Linked DNA regions of Homo sapiens: region 1 is linked to region 2. Evidence: promoter capture Hi-C in 16 types of primary human blood cells and fetal thymus (Javierre and others, 2016). All regions are on one chromosome and are shown on one strand. The core of a region is centred on a gene start or on the middle of the fragment in contact, and the rest is flanking DNA. Distances in the headings are between cores, read along the strand shown.

The links. Contacts are between HindIII fragments. The CHiCAGO score rates a contact against its expected background, and 5 or more counts as called.
Region 1: a fragment that was not itself captured here is called in contact with the fragment with the promoter of FAM9C in region 2 in 1 of 17 cell types (non-activated CD4 T cells); the score reaches 5.0 in non-activated CD4 T cells.

Annotation. Positions count from the first base shown.
Region 1 is chrX:13,094,534-13,099,654 of GRCh38, forward strand. It overlaps LOC105373133 (a long non-coding RNA gene), which reads left to right. Exons shown (of 4, transcript NR_171577.1): 4 at 1,110-1,262. Among named protein-coding and RNA genes, the nearest start is that of FAM9C, 52 kb to the left of the region's middle. The HindIII fragment of the contact is 4,149 bases long and covers 870-5,018 here.
Region 2 is chrX:13,043,207-13,048,494 of GRCh38, forward strand. It overlaps FAM9C (family with sequence similarity 9 member C), which reads right to left and starts at 1,414. Exons shown (of 8, transcript NM_174901.6): 1 at 1,334-1,414; 2 at 523-651; 3 at 1-42. The coding sequence starts at 583. LOC105373133 (a long non-coding RNA gene) reads left to right here and starts at 1,527. Exons shown (of 4, transcript NR_171577.1): 1 at 1,527-1,643; 2 at 4,896-4,999. The HindIII fragment of the contact is 8,868 bases long and covers 152-5,288 here.

The DNA.
Region 1 (5,121 bases), core at 1,694-4,193, 53 kb after region 2:
TGGGCATATTGTGAATAAAGCTGCTATGAATACTGGTGTATTTTATGGACCTGTGCTTTCACTCCTCCTGGCTATGTACTTAGGAGTAAAATTGCTGGGCTGTAGAGAAGGCATCTGTTTAACTTAATAGAAGTTAGTATCACTATTTTTGATTTGGATATGAGAAAAAAAGGGTTTTTTTAGAAAAAAAAAATGAAACAGTTACAATCTTTCTTCACTTATTTTCCCAATTCCATTCATTGTATTAATTTTTTAAAGAGTAGAGTATCTCTTTCCTGTGCCACAGGCATGGTTAATTGAATCAGCAGTACAGAAAGTTAGAGGGTCACGAGGTACGAAGAATCCAGCAAACTCACATCTGCGTAAATACACTCTCACATCATTTTATATGCATTCACACCAACCCATATCTTTAAAAGTGGACTTTCCTGACACTGGGGTTGACCACAGTGCTGACACAGACAGAATTCCTATGAAAGCAAATATTTTAAGAGGAAAATTTCCCCTGTAATGAAAACTTGATTGAAATGACAGTTGCAGGCAGTGAAAAGCATGTGGAATATGTAGAACGAGCAAAATCAGATCTTTCTGTGGTGTCCTTTCTGAGTATCCAAGAAGTCTCATTCCCCTGCCAAATGCACAACTCTCCTAAGGCCTGAGCACAAAGAGAACTGCCTGGTCTTCCCAGCTGCCAGCTCCCTTCCAAAGTGAATTCCTGAGTCCCAGCTGCTCCCCACTGGAGTGCCACTGAATTCTACAAAATCCTGACCAGCTATGCAAAAGCAAATAAACAGGGGCAAGTATTTTAAGACCCTATAGTGTCACAACACTGAAGGCTGGTATGCTAAAAGGAAGAACAGAAATGTCCAAGCTTGTTTCTCTACAAGGTATATTTTACAACAGCCATTACTCATCACAAGTAAAATTCGTTTCACCCAAATAGGCATTTCATACAATTTTTCTAATGATACACAGTGCTTGTTTTCAGATTACCTAAAGTCCCAACCCTTCTGCTATCTCAAACTTTGACCTTTGTCTGTGAGATGCATCTAGTGCCTCATTAAATGGCAGCTTGATACAATTATATATTCCTTGGTCCTTTCTTACAGAATCTGAGATGACACCCCGGGATTGCCACGGGAAAAATTGCCATGTCTGTGTGATATCAAATAGTCTGATCAAGTCAGCAAATAAGAAATGTCAATCACTCAGGTTTTGTCGTTGGCACAAGGAAATCAAAACAATGGGGTGATTCAATATCTTTCCCTTTCTTTTCTTATTTTTTTTTTTGGTTTGTTTTTAAACATTTATTTTTTCCACTGCTCTCTTGTTGTGTTGATAGTCATTTTCTGAACAAAAACAGAACACTTTCTACTTGATTTTCTTTGCCATTTTTTGAGAGACTATCGAATGTACTTGTCCTGAAACTGTTTTCAGAGCAGAATTTAGCTTTCTCAGTGGGACTGGTAATGCAATGGGAATTAGCCCTACATTTTCCACATTGATTTCCTGCAGCTCAACTTCCATATGAGTTGTTTTAATGTATAACTTATTGGATCTGTCATGATTTGGAGTTAATTTCTTTCTTATTCTAAAGAGCACACAGGATTGCTTAGGGAGAAATGACCATGGACTGGCAGAGGCTTCCTTATTAGGAAGTCAATGTATCTGCCACTGAAACCCCACATCATGGACCTCGGAAGCCTCCATCATGGTGGGGGATTTGGTTCTCTGCTCCGCATATTTTTTTTTTTTTTTTTTTTTTTTTTTGAGATGGAGTTTCACTCTGTCACCCAGGCTGGAGTGCAGTGGCGTGATCTCGGCTCACTGTATCCTCCACCTCCTGGGTTTAAGCAATTCTCTGCCTCAGCCTCCCGAGTAGCTGAGATTACAGGCGTCCACCACCACACCAGGCTATTTTTTTTTTTTGTATTTTTAGTAGAGATGGGGTTTCAGCATCTTGGCCAGGCTGATCTTGAACTCCTGACCTCATGATCTACCCGCCTTGGCCTCCCAAAGTACTGGGATTACAGGCATGAGCCACCACGCCCGGCCTCCTCTGTATATTTTTTATGGAATCACTTCTTTCTTATTTTAGTTCCACTAGCACAAGTAAGTTTTGATTTGGGAAATGGTGAACATATTACTGCACATGTTTTGTGGGCCCACAGACTCTATCATAGACTTTTTGTTGTTGTTGTTGTTGTTAATGTCCGATTTAATGATATAAAATTTACCTACAGTATAATTTAACCCTTTTATGAATACAATTCTATGAGTTTTGTAAAACAAATGTAGAGATGTAACTACCACCACAACTAAGATATTGAGTATATCACCCCACAAAGTTCCACTTTGCTTCTTTGAAGTCAGTCTCCTCCCACCAATCCCCAGTTCCTGGAAACTACTGATCTGTTTTGTGTACCTATAGCTTTGTTTTTTCCAGAATGTTGTATTAATGGAACCATATAAAATGTGGCCTTTTGTCTCTCACTGTTTTCACTCAGCATGACGCTTCTGAGATTCATTTATGTTGTGCATATCAGTACTTGTTTCTTTTTATATCTGAGCAGTATTCCATTACATGGATATACCAAAGTTTGTTTATACATTTACCTATTAATAGAGCATTTGGATTGTTTCTAGTTTGGGGCAATTATGAACAGTGCTGCTATGAACTTTCTCTTAGAAGTACTTGCGTAGACAAGCATTTCCATTCTATTAGTAAATTACCTAGGAGTAGAAATGCTGAGTTGTATGCTGTGTTAAAAGAAACTCCCATACAGTTTTCCAAAGTGGCAGTATCATTTTGCATTTCCACTAGTATTTGATAAGATTTCCAATTGCTTTGCATCCTTGGCAGTATTGTCAGTTTTTTTTTTTGTTTTTTTGTTTTTTGTTTTTTTTTTTATTATAAGCCAGGCATAGCCCCAGTTACTTGGGAGGCTGAGGCAGGAGGCTCGCTTGAACCCAGGAGTTTGAGGTTGCAGTGAGCTAGGATCACTCCACTGTACTCCAGCATGGGCAACAGAGTGAAACCCCATATCTAGAAAATATTTAAAAATAGTTAAGTAAAAACTGTAGACATTCTCTTGGGTTTTCAGTGGCATTGCATTGTGCTTTTAGTTTGCATTGCCCTAATGACTAATTATATTGAACATTGCCCTAATGACTAATGATATTGAACATTCATGAGCTTCATGAGTGTATTTGCCATCTGTTTCTCGTGTGTAATCAAATCTTTTGATCATTTTTTAATTGAGTTGTTTGTTTTGTTTGATTATTGGAATGTGACAGTTCTTTAGATATTTCTCGATATGAGTTTTTAAAATCAGATACATGATTTGCAAATATTTTATCCAAACTCTTGACTAGCTTTTTTATTCTCTTACCAGTGTCCTATTATACACTCTCATTTGCAGTGAATTGGGGTTGTTTCTTGCCTTCACCCCTGTCATCTTGGACAGCAGGGTAAGGAGATAGGTGGTGCCATTGGCTTCTGGTCCAATGCATAACACTCTGGCTTAAGGTCTATTATGGGTTGAATGTTTTGTGTTTACCCCTAATTTACATGATGAAATCCTAACCCCCCAATGAGATGGTATTAAGAGATGGGGCCTTTAGGACATAATTAGGTCATGAGAGCTTGTTCTTGCTCTCTGCTCTCCATTATGTGAGGATACAATGAGAAGATAGACATCTGCAAACCAAGAGGTGGGCCCCCACCAGACACTGGATTTGCCAGCACCTTGATCTTGGACTTCCCAGCCTCCAGAACCATGAGAAATAAATGTTTACTGTTCAAGCCACCCAGTCTCTGGTACTTTGTTATAGCAGCTCATGCTGACTAAGACAAGGTCAGTCTCCAGAGAGAAGAATATTGACCTAAACATTGGATTCTTCACTTCTCTAACTGCAGAGTACATAGAATAATTGGGAAAGTTTGATTAGTATGCAGATTTCCAAGCTCCACTTCCAGAAATGTTTATTCAGTACCTGTGAAGTGAGACCTAGATTGTTGCGATATTTAATAAGCAGCCAGATTATCCTGATATAGGTGGCTCTGGGATGAGACTTTGAGAAATCCTGAATATCTAAAGCCACTCATGATGCTTCATGTCTGGTGTGGTAAAGATGCGAAGTCTATGTCCAGGCCTAAACAAGATGGTGAGGTGTAAGTCAGAGCAGGGGATGTTGCCACACAATTAGACAAAAAGAGAAGAATCACCAAGAATGCAGGGATTTTAGGGCATTTATACTGAACATTCAGCCTGTTCCCTCATCCATCACTCTGCTATCATAGGCATGTCGTAATAAAAGTGGCTTTCATGTGTGATATTTTATTTGAATATAAACTGGAGGGGAAAGGTTGTTGACAAATAAATAAATTTTGGCACACTAAAAAATATCAATCAGGCTGCTGTGGAGGTTCATGCCTATAATCCCAGAACTTTGGGAGGCCAAGGTGGGAGGATCACTTGAGGCCAAAAGTTCAAGACCAGCCTGGGTAACATAGCAAGACCTCATCTCTATTTAAAAAAAAAAAAAATCAATTCTTAACCTTGATCCTGAATAAGAATATTGTCTCCTTATGTCATACATTACTGGGCTGCCAGCTATGGTGCTGTGATGGATTCTGGTTCATATTTTTAGGTCCACTGTTCTTACAGGAAGTCATCATGACCTTTTTCAACAGGGATGTGTGGAAGCTCTTTGGTCTTACAGTAATACTTTTCTAGACAAAAGTAGAACTTGTCCTGCTTATTTTCAAAAAAATTCATGAAGGATATTGGAGTATGAATCATTATTGTGTTTTAGAGAAAAGGAAACACAGACAGTAGCAACAAAACACCCAACTTCTATGTAAGGGCAAAGGGAATTTTTCCCTTCCCCTCTGAAGGTTTGAGTCTGCTGAAATAAACTGATAAAGAGGAGAAAGGGCATACAAGTTTATTAATGTGTAAGTGTGTATGGGAGCCATACAAAATATGATACTAAAAGAAGGGCCAGATGGGTGAAGCTTAAATAGCACATTCTTCACAGAAGGGAGAGAAATAGAGGAATGTAGGCAATTTTGAGGTGTAATGAATGATTTTCAGGGGAAATGAATAAGCCCATAGA
Region 2 (5,288 bases), core at 164-2,663:
CAGGTTTTCTTTCCTCATGCTCATGACTTACTGGATCCTTTCCTGCATTAAAATAAAAAAGACAAACCTTTTTTAGAGGAAGACGCTGTTGTGGACATTTTTCATAGAGAAACGTACTATTTGTAGACTTTTTTGGCTCTCCGCCAATTAAAGCTTTACCGCAGAGCTATACATGGAATCGCCGGCTCCTAACCATTTTACGGAGGCATTTTTGGAAGCCCTTCGGGTTCAAGTCCCAGTAAACAACGTTCACAGGTCAGATCCCTTGGATGTCAGGACCGCATCCATGGAGAAGAGCTGCTCTGAGAGCATCTGTAACCCTGCTATGAGGGGGAGCCTCCCACGGGAAGCCTAAGGCCCTTGAGCCTGCTTTGAAAACCTGGGGCATCTCAGCACATGCACGGTGAGCTCCAAAGCCACGAAGGGGCCGGGGGCCTCGGGCTGCCCATGTGCGCCCCGCCCAGAAAGCAGACAGACTGTTGGGCGTGCACCTTCTTCTAGGTCCCCTTGGGCTGTGTTTACCTGCAAGCTCCATTTCCTGGGCGGCCATAACTTGAACCTCCAACTGGTCCTTGGCAGCCATCCTGCTGCCCTTCCTGCCCACGGGCTCCGTGGCTGACTGGCCTGGGAAGCTAGAGGCGACCTCTGAACCTGGTGAGTGCAAAGACACACTAAGGACACTAAGGAAACGAGGCGTGTTAAATGAAAATCATCAGGATCGCAGGTTCAAGGGCGCCCCGGGTCTCCCGTGGGAGCAGGAGGGGACGCGGAGAAGATGCCATCATCCCCTCCTGTCCTGGCCCGTCCAGCGCTTCCCCGGGGCTGGCTGCAGAGCTCGCAGAATTCCGCGGCCTCTGCGGGATTCTTGCAGTGCCCTTGGGACAGAGCCTGGCCCTGCCCCTGGGTTCCCCAGCGACCCAGTGGAGTCGGGAGGGCCGCGGGGTGACACAGGATCTCCCCAGCCATCTCCATGGGAATGAGCCGGTACGCACCTGTTTCTGACAGGGGCAGGGACTGCCCATTCGCCAGCCTGGACGCCCAGGGGACCCCTGGTGACCCCAAGTATCCCGTCCTGATGGGCAGCCAGACAAGACGGACCCACGTTGACCCCCCGACCCCCCCCCAAACGCTGCACACATGCACAGGCCTCCGGGACCCTCCTGGGTCCTGGGGACCACTCAGGCAGCTCCAACTCCCTGCCCTGACCCAGGCCCCAGGCGACAATGCCTGGGCCATTTCCTCACAGATCAGCCTGGCTGCCCCGCCCTTCACACCCTCTTCCCCAAAGGGCCTCTGGCCCGCCTTCCCCGCATCCCCACCGAGGGCGTCTCACCTGAGGGAGCCCTGATGTTGCTCCCTCAGAGGACCTGCAGAGGCTGGCACCGCGAAGCTCCTCCGAGGGCCTGGGTCCTCTGTTCTCACGAGAGCAGCAGCCGCCCCGGCTGCCCGCGCTCCTCGCTGATTGGTCGGCCCAGTGCGCATGCAGGTGGCGGGCGGCATGGGGCCACGCCCCCTGCAGGCACACCCTCCCCCTCACGGACTGTCCATGGCTGCTGTGGACTCATTGGGTGGCTCTCTGAGGCCTCTGTCCCCACGATATTCCAGCTCCTCATCCTGGTGAAGGAAGCAAGGACTCGGGAGTGGTGAGTGCCAGGGGACCCTGCCCTAAGGAATGGAGGCCAAGTGAACGGGGCCTAGGACCTTGCCCCCAGGCTCGTTCCAGCCACTCCTGCCCCTTTGGGTGGAATGGCCATCACCCTGCGGGTGGAGCCCAGGCTCCCTCCCATGTCCTGTGTGCTTCCAACACGCCCAGCTGCATCCTTTTTATCAATGGATTGTGCTTTTATGTTTTATCTAAGAAAATTGTTGACTCCCAGCAGGGGCAGGTAGTTTTCTCCTATCCTACTCCATTCCCTCACACTGGGCATTGCATGATTCTGCAGTGGATATACAAAGTTAAAGACTTTATGTCTAGATTTCTCATGATGTGGTCATTTCTTTTCTTTCATTTTTCTTTTTTCTTTTTTTTTTTTTTTTTGACAGGGTCTTGCTCTGTCACCCAGGCTGGGCTGCAATGGTGTAATCACTACTCACTGTAGCCTCAACTGCCCGCGCTCAAGGGATCCTCCCACCACAGCCTCCCAAGTAGCTGGGACTACAGGCATGTCCCACCATGCCCAGCTAATTTTATTTTATTTATTTATTTATTTTTAGAGACAGAGTCTTACTCTGTCCCCAGGCTGGAGTGCAGTGGCACGATCTCGGCTTCCTGCAACCTCTGCCTCCCTGGTTCAAGCAATTCTCCTGCCTCAGCCTCCCAAGTAGCTGGGACTATAGGCGCACGCCGCCACGCCTGGCTGATTTTTTTTTTTTTTTTTTTGTATTTTAGTAGAGACAGGGTTTCACCGTGTTGCCCAGGCTGGTCTCGAACTCCTGAGCTCAGTCAGTCTGCCCGCCTCAGCCTCCCAAAGTGCTAGGATTACAGGCATGAACCACCGCTCCTGGCCAATTTTGTTTATTTTTTGCAGAGATGAGGTCTCACTATGTTGCCCAGGCTGGTCTGCAACTCCTGGGCTCAAGCGATCCGCCCGCCTCAGCCTCCTAAAGTGCTGGGGTTACAGGCTTGAGCCATCGTGCCCAGCCCGATTATTTCCACAGCTGGGTTGGAAGCCATCTTTCCCTGACAAGGCAGCTCACCTTTATATCTAAGAGTTCTCTATAACCTAAAGAGAATCCCTAATTACTGACACTAAATACCACCAGCTGTCCCCATTTCCCCACAATCTACTTGGTACCCAAATTAGCCAATGAGACATCTTGGGGAATTTTAAGCCATGATTGCTTCAGGTTTCTCTCTCTTTCGAGCTTAAGATGTGTAACATTAAGAAAGAAGACAAATCTTGCAGAGGGCTTTGTGCAACCAGTCTTACAGCTTTCTATCCCATCTGGATCAATGTAATTTTCATATGCTTCATCAAAGATTTCAGCTGAAAGTACTATACCAGGTTCTGTCTATAATTGGAAACACATACACACATACACCAACTACTGGTATTCAGCTAAGAATTCAATGCTGGCTCATTTTTCTTTAAAAGAATGTCAAATCAAGGAACAATTCTCCATCACAAAGTGGAATTTGATGTCAGGTGAAGACAAATGGGGATTACAGAGCTACTTCTTTGGCATAACAGCCTAGAAACAAACTGAAAAGGATTCTGCAATTTTAAATAGGCACAAAGACATTCTTTTCAGAACACCAAGTGTCCAAGTTACAAAACCCTGAAGAAATTCTTTTAAACTTTGGATGGAGCAATTTATCTCTTTTTCCCAACTGGAGTATTTGTGAGATGTCTCCCAGAAAGAAACAACTCAATACACAAATCATTAAGCCTTTGTAAAGGGAGGAAGTCTATTTGAAGCAACTCTGGGTTGCGGAAACAGGTTTTGTGAACTAACCAAAGCCTTTAGGGCAAACATGGTCACTTCAATTTTTTTTTTTTCCCACTAGAGGTTATCTACAAAGACCACAGGAAATGTTTAAGCAAATTTAAAGGAGATTTCTCAAGAGTTATTAGAATAAGTACTTTAATTTAGAGAATTGGTTTCTAATAACTGGAGGTGTAACCCCCTCCTACCCCCAACACCCTACTCCACCCTATGTGAATTGACTGACAAGTAAGGATAATGCTTCATAACAAATGTAGAAATAACACCAATTTTCAAAGCAGCCCTCACTCTTCTATTGCTGTCATTAAGAACTAACTGAAAGAAATGCACTGCTTGGATTCATAGACAGACAGAGGGACAAACAGATGGCTAGATATGTGATAAGCAACAACAGTATGGCCAGATGTCAATGATAGAATCTAGGTGATGGGAACATGAATGTTTTCCATGAAATTCTTTCAACTTTTCTGTGTATTTGAAATTTCTAATAATAAAATGTTGGAAAACAACATGTATGCTGTGCATACATGTAGAGACATAGGCTCAGACCCTCTCATCAAATGGCAACAACAATTGTTCATTTTGAAAACATCTAGAAATCTAAGATGTGATCACTGGGTTAAAGACTGTATACATCCATACTCTGTAGCCTGAATTAGTGATTTACGCTCTAATAGCCAATCAAATTGCTCATTTATCAGACAGGGCTGGTAGCACAGGAGATGGAAGTTTCTCTGCTGATAATCCTCCAGACGTTTGAGGGCTTCATGTTCATTCACATTTCAGCCTTTTCTCCAATTCTTAGACTCTTAGCAAAAGTTTATACTCGAATGAAGCAGCAAATTCTAGGCTCCAGCTGTTTAAGAATGAATGAAAACATTCATGTCTTTCAGAAAGGCTTATCTGATGTACTCTGCACAAATACCCTCACCTATGATCTTCTCTGTGCAAACTCTATCAGGGCCCTTCTCAGTGGGCTTTTCAAGACTCTCTCCAATTAGATTATAATTCCTTCAAGGGCAGGTCTTTGTCAACTTTGCTTCTCCAGCACTCAGCGCCATGGCTGGCACATGGTGGGCCGTCAGCAAATGCTGTGTTTGCTATACGTGAATTAATGCTGTGCATACATGTAGAGACATAGGCTCAGACCCTCTCATCAAATGGCAAAGTCTACCACCCAGTCCTGAGAATTACATCTCAGCTTAGAGCAGAGGGGCCCCACCCTGGCGTCTCCTGGAATCACTCAGGAAATTTCAAAACACACTGCTGCCTCCATCCTACCCACTAAGTTTCTGATTAACTGTGTTGGAGTTTGGCCTGGGCCTCAGGACGGTGAAATCTCCCCAGATGATAGAAAAGTGCAGGCAGCACTGAGAATTCCAGGGTTTGGACTTTACAAGCCACCAGGTAATTTCATTTTCACTCACCTTCTTTCCTTTGATTCTCAGGACAAGCTACCAGGTCTCCAGGACTGAAGGTTATCATCTAAGTTGGTGTTCTCAACTGGAGGCGATTTACCCCCCACCCAGGAGACAGTTGGCAATGTCTGGAGGTATTTTTGGTTTTTATAGCTGGGGATGGGGGTGCTACTGGAATCTTGTGGGTAGAAGCCAGGGATGCTGCTAAACATCCTACAATGCACAGGACAGCCCCACCACAAAGAATTATCTGGCTCCCAATGCCAACAGTGTTGAGATTGACACACCGTGGTCTATGGTAACTGTTTGATTAGCTAGGGCTTTCTTAGCTAGAGTAATCTCCTTTTTGCACTCTGTGCCCATGCCCTGAGTAAGACAGACAACTGCACAACAATTTATCCCAGAGTACATCTGAGTCAACTG